2 separate regions of the Homo sapiens genome follow, and region 2 is linked to region 1. The links are contacts of gene promoters, found by promoter capture Hi-C in blood cells and fetal thymus (Javierre and others, 2016). All regions are on one chromosome and are shown on one strand. Each heading gives the region's core, a stretch centred on a gene start or on the middle of the fragment in contact. The rest is flanking DNA. Distances are from core to core; before and after follow the strand shown.

Region 1 (2,842 bases), core at 202-2,701:
GCTGATGTGGTTCGTTATTCAAAGAACACTTAACAGTCCTTCATAAAATGGTAGATTCAGTCTAAGGACTAAGAGTAGAACATTCTGGAATAACAATAACGTTTACAAACACCACTTACCATTTGGTCCTAGGTTTTCATAAAAAATTGATATAGGCAGCAGATGTATACAGAACACCCTAGTTGAGGCCAGTTTAAGTGTAAAATACCCACATACTCAAAGCCTAAGAACAATTTACTTAAGACAAAACAATGTTGGAGAAATTGCCCAATATCACAAATGTAGCAGTCACCCCTAAACAGTGTTTTTGATTAATGACAACCAATTTCCTTCAATCTTAAAGGCAACCAATTCAAGCCAGTAGGTTAAATCCTTGAAGTATACTGCAATGCTACTCCTTTTTTCCAGGGAATCAGATGAGAATTTTGTGCTAAGAACTTATCAGGAAAATGGAAGTAACGAAAATTAACACGCCAAAATATGAGTATAAGAAATATAAGCCTCCTTAATAATCAGCCAAGAAAAAAATAATCAGGTTATGTCTCCTCCCACCCATTCTTTCTGTCTTAACCTTCTGCAAAAGCCGGCTGGATTCAGAGTAGAAATAAACGAATTTTACAATGAGTCGAGTACCACCAAAAATCAAAAGTGGGAGCTTACTCGTCCTCCAGGTCTGACCCGCCTCCAGCCCGAGGCCACCAAAAGACACACCTCCCTTCCCCCAACCCGCCACAGCCGGCTCTACAGGTAACAGGCGTTTCTTCTCGCGCAGTTTGAACAAAAACAATCCAGAAGGAACAGATTTGGTTTTTTAAAAAAAATGAACAAAAGCCAAAAAAGCCACAAACACAACCTAAACCTTCTAAGAAGCTCGACTACTCCCGTTCTGCACGTTCCTTCCCAGAAGGATGCAGACCCCCGGTGTCGGCGGGAACCAGGAAGCTCTTGGGGCCTCCCTGGGCCAGACCTGCACCCGGGAAGCCGCCGCAAGGCTTCAGGAGCCCCAGGTCGCCCCAAGGCCGCGCCGCAGGATTGAACAAAGCGGCGGGTGCAGCAACCTCGGCGCTTCCGAGCGCGTTCGGGGCCGGACGCCCGGCGTCCGGCGCTGGCTCCAGAAAGGCGGCGGGTGTGGGGCGCAGAGGCCTATCTCGCGCCCTAGCCGCGGCCCGCGCCCCGCCGCAGTCCCCGGGGACGGTACTCACACACGCAGAGCTCCACCACGTACGCGTAGTAGGACCAGACGACCACGAAGGTGATGAAGAGCACCGGCACCCAGCCCACGACGCGCTGGCAGCAGCGCCACAGCGTCCAGGGCGCCATGTTCCGCTGGCGGCTGCCGAGCCCCGCGTCCCACCGTTCTGGGGAGCGCGGGAGCCCCGGCGACGGTGACTCGGACGCTCCAGGCGGCTGCTGGTCCAGCTCCCCCGCCTCCGAGGCAGGACTTGTGGGAGCAAAAGTCCGAGGCGCCGCCGGGACTCCTCCCGTCCCGGCGCCCAGCCAGGCCCCGCCCCCACCCCACATCCCGTCGCCCCCCTCCCCCCGCGTCCGTCCCCGCCAGCCCGCCCGCCGCGGGCCGCGGGCCGCCCCCGGTCTCCGCGTCGTTGGGGCGGGGTTTCCGCGGCCGGGGAGGCGGTGAGGGGGCGGGGCCGCAGCTCGGGACCGCCCATGGGGCGTGGCGGGGCTGGATGCGGACAGGCTGGGCGGACGCGGGAGGCCGGGGAAGGAGAGGCGAAAAACACGCCCTTGATGGATGAGAGGGACAGGGGATAGCTTTTGTGGATCGAGACTCAATAGGGGAGGGAGACTATGGAAATGATTCCTTAGCTGATTTGTGGATCTTGGCCCTCTCTGTGTACAGAACTCGCTCCACTGGGGTTCCTGGGACATTGAGTAGTTGGGGCACTGTTTCAAACATGACAAGGCCATTCCCCACTCAGTGTGCGAAGAATGCACATTGTTAGAAGGCTCCTCCTGTGATTTTTATGTTCGTCCATCTTGGCGGAACCCCTCCCTTTCTTGAAGATGGAACGGTAGATACCTGTAATTTCGGGTAGAAGCCATGTAGGGTCCATCAGTTTGATTCGTAACCCAAATTTAAGATTGAGTAGCGAGAAGGAAAGGGCATGTAAATGACCCTCTCCTTGCCCCGCAAACGACTAAGGAAATTTAAAGAATTTATTTACAACTAGAGGTTGCTAAGCAATGACGATAATCATATAGAACCCAGAAGCATCACTGTGAAGACTTCACAATGCAAGGTCAGACGCATTAGAAGGGATTCCAGACCGCAATCTTCATACCAGTTCCTGCTACTAGCATTCAGTTTTGGTTAGAATGAATTTTTGTGTTTGTTTTTTGAAACAGGGTCTTCTCGCTCTGTCGCCCAAGCTGGAGTGCAGTGGCACGACCTGGGCTCATTTAAGCCTCGACCTCCCTGCTAAAGCACTCCTCCTGCTTCAGCCTGCAGAGTAGCAGGGACTACAGGCCCGCCACCATGCCCAGCTGATGTTTGTATTTTCTGTAAAAACTAGGTTTCGCCCTGTTGCCATGCTGGCCCTGAACTCCAAGGCTCAAGGAATCCCAACCCCTCTCCGCCTCCACCTCCCAAAGAAGTGCTGAGATTACAGGTGTGAGCCACCACGACCGGCCTACACTGAGCTTTAAATTAGCTACTGCTCACTAAAGTCTCCATGAAGAAGACGTCACCCTTTGCTGTGTCAGAGAAATGTAGTAAAAGCGAGTAAGTATTTAATCACTGCACACTGCTGCTTGAGTAATAAAGCATGTATAAAAGATTCTGTTCTCCCTGATTTTGTGCCTTAAAAGTCATATTAGTTAGTGG
Region 2 (2,842 bases), core at 201-2,700, 930 kb before region 1:
CGCTCTTATTGCCCAGACTGGAGTGCAATGGCACCATCTCGGCTCACCGCAACCTCCGCCTCCCGGGTTCAAAGGATTCTCCTGCCTCAGCCTCCCGAGTAGCTGGGACTACAGGCATGTGCCACTACGCCCGGCTAATTTTGTATTTTTAGTAGAGACGGAGTTTCTCCATATTGGTCAGGCTGGTCTCGAACTCCCGACCTCAGATGATCCGCCTGCCTCGGCCTCCCAACGTGCTGGGATTACAGGGGTGAGCCACCGCGCGCGGCCCAAAGTGCACTTTTTAATATGCCTTCACTATTCAACCACGGGCACTCATGGGCCAGAAAGAACAAAGGCACAGTTAACTCCACTGCTCTGGAGAAAAGAAAGCTGACAACAAGGAATCTGATGCCTTCCTTCAGTGGGAAGGAAACACCCTGACATTGGAAGTGGTCTCCACACCGGGTTGTACACTGATGGGGGGCGGAGTCGGGGGCAGGCCAACACCTCAACAGCAGTCACCAAAAAGGTGCTTTTAACTATCAATAGCAAGTATTAACATGTTTATAGATTGCTGCTAACAGCTGGCCAAAGAAAGGTACATACAAATGCCCCTTTTTAAAAAACAAAAATAGCAAGGATTGTAACCGTAGGGGTGGGGGGCGGGGTGGGGGAAGCACACACTAAAAATCAGTTTGGGCAGAATTTAAGCTGTTAAATGGACACACTTAGCAAACTCTCTGGGCTCCATCGGCCCCCACCTCCCCTCTGGAAACATCGCCTCGCCCAGGAATTAGGACTGCGTGTATGTTCGCCTAACACCTGCTGCGGCCTCCAGCGACATCGTCGCCGACAGGACTGCGCTGGCACCCTCCCTGCTGGGCTAGTCCTGTCTCCGTCACTAAACGCCTGTGACCTTAGGTAAACTGCTTAGTCTCAGTATTCTCATTCGTAAAATGGGGATGAGAACACAGTCGTCGCAGGATCGCAGCCAGAATTCGTTTCATTCAACACGGTGCCTGGCACTTCTATGTGGACCTGCGGGCAGACGCGGCGACATTCAACAGAGTCCAGGAACCGCAGGCCCCGCGGCCTGGGCGGTCAACCTCGGAACCTCCTGCAACGCTGGCTCCCGGGAAGCAGACCCAACTCCGCGGGGCGCCTCCACCTGCCAAGCCCCTCCAGCCGCGCCTCTCCCCGAGCCCGCCAGCGCCGTAGGGGCCGCAGGGCGCAGGGCTTCGGAGGACCGGAGGCCGGGGCGGGGACAGCGACCCGGCGCCCACCCCGAGGGCCCCACGCGAGGGCACCACGTCCCCGGCGTCTCCCCGGGCTCCAGGGGCAGCAGCGCGGCTCGGAGCCCTTTACCTGCCAACGATCACCACGCAGCCGGCCGCGGAGGACGCCATGGTTGGGCCGGGGACGCGGCGCCGCGGGCGCTGGGACCAGGCGCCGGCGGAGCTGCGAGCTCTGGGCTCCGGGGAGGGCGGGTCCCGCGCCCATTGGCTGCGCGCGCGGACCGGGAGGGCGGGGAGGGCCGCTTGGTCCCTGAGTGGGGTGCGCGCCGCGGGCCCGAGACACCGGGAGACACACGGCGCGCCGACCCTCGTGGGCAGGGGCAGGACCAGCGCGGGGGCACGTCGGGGGGTGGAAAGCGGGAAGACCACGCGCTTGTGACTGTCAGCATTCACCGTGAAGTCCGTGTCTATAGGAGGGGACACGGGCAGGCTGGCACGGGCTCTAGCGCTAAAGCACCCTAGAGAAACTGTCAGAGAATGTCCCCTTTGCTAATTCGTCTCTGAAAGACGCCTGCCGCTGCCGCCAACTGCGAACTGGGCGCAGGGACTGCGACAGCAGTGAAAGAGAACACCTGATGCGTTCATCTGCGCTACGGAAGGACACGTCTGAATTCCTCCACGGAGCACACTCTGCACTCGGTTTATGTATCAGAAAAAGGAAATGCCCTCGTGCCCTGACTCCTGGCCTTCTTGGAGCCCGGAACAGACCAAGAGGAAGGGGCATCACACATTGCCTGACAGTGGTGTGCGTCCACACAGCACAAGCTGAACGGGAAATGACACAGTCATTAGACAGAGGAGACAGTACTCAAGCTGGAACCGCAGCCAACACTGAGATGATAAAAGGAAGTCTTCCTTTGTTTCCCCTGAGTCAGGAACGTGGAAAGAGAAATCTCAGGGGAGGGGTTAGGTTTTTTTGTTTTGTTTTGTTTTTTAAAGAACAGTTTCACAAATTATCGATAAATATTTGTAAAGTATTCAACCTCAAGAGAAATGAAAAGTAACACAAGGAAGATAAGTCATCTCTCACTCATCAGATTGGCTAAGTCACATGGATTGATTATATTCCCATATCCGTAATGGAGTGTTTCGGACATGCAACTTACACACAGTAGAAGGCAAGCTTAAATGTTGAGGACTTTTTGGAGGGAATGTTACAGTACATTGTTGAGACAGCCGCTAGCCTGAGCAACCGCGCCTGCTCTGGCTGAGAATACAAGGCTCCAAAGCTTCCATCTTCTGATGGAGCAGTTTCTGTAGTCAGTTACACAGGCAGCCAATATAATAATCAAGGCACCCAGGGAGTGAGCATCCTGTGACTGCTCACTACCGGAGGCTATGGGGGCAGCAGACTGGCTTGTTTGCTGCTCCCTGCAAAGTCATGCCTGAAATCCCAGCGCTTTGGGAAGCTGAGTAGTAAATAATAGCTTGAGGCCAGGAGTTCAAGACCAGCCTGGGCAACAAAGCGAGACCCCTGTCTCTACCAAAAAATTAAAAAACTTATCCAGGCTGGTGCCGCCTGTAGTCTCAGCTACTCAGTAGGCTGAGGCAGGAGGATTGCTTGA

The links. The method cuts DNA at HindIII sites, captures the fragments that hold promoters and counts their contacts. A CHiCAGO score of 5 or more calls a contact.
Region 2: a contact is called between the fragment with the promoter of CRYL1 here and the fragment with the promoter of ZDHHC20 in region 1, in 14 of 17 cell types (fetal thymus, total B cells, naive B cells and 11 more). The highest score is 23.7, in fetal thymus.

Annotation. Positions count from the first base shown.
Region 1 is chr13:21,457,852-21,460,693 of GRCh38, forward strand. It overlaps ZDHHC20 (zDHHC palmitoyltransferase 20), which reads right to left and starts at 1,452. Exons shown (of 13, transcript NM_001330059.2): 1 at 1,203-1,452. The coding sequence starts at 1,320. It overlaps LOC124903131 (a long non-coding RNA gene), which reads left to right and starts at 1,696. Exons shown (of 2, transcript XR_007063713.1): 1 at 1,696-2,328; 2 at 2,532-2,795. RefSeq lists a silencer at 1,365-1,744, an enhancer at 1,608-1,777 and a cis regulatory region at 1,693. The HindIII fragment of the contact is 7,258 bases long and covers 1-2,842 here.
Region 2 is chr13:20,524,407-20,527,248 of GRCh38, forward strand. CRYL1 (crystallin lambda 1) reads right to left here and starts at 1,451. Exons shown (of 8, transcript NM_015974.3): 1 at 1,348-1,451. The coding sequence starts at 1,388. RefSeq lists a silencer at 1,127-1,676 and an enhancer at 1,857-1,966. The HindIII fragment of the contact is 5,179 bases long and covers 1-2,398 here.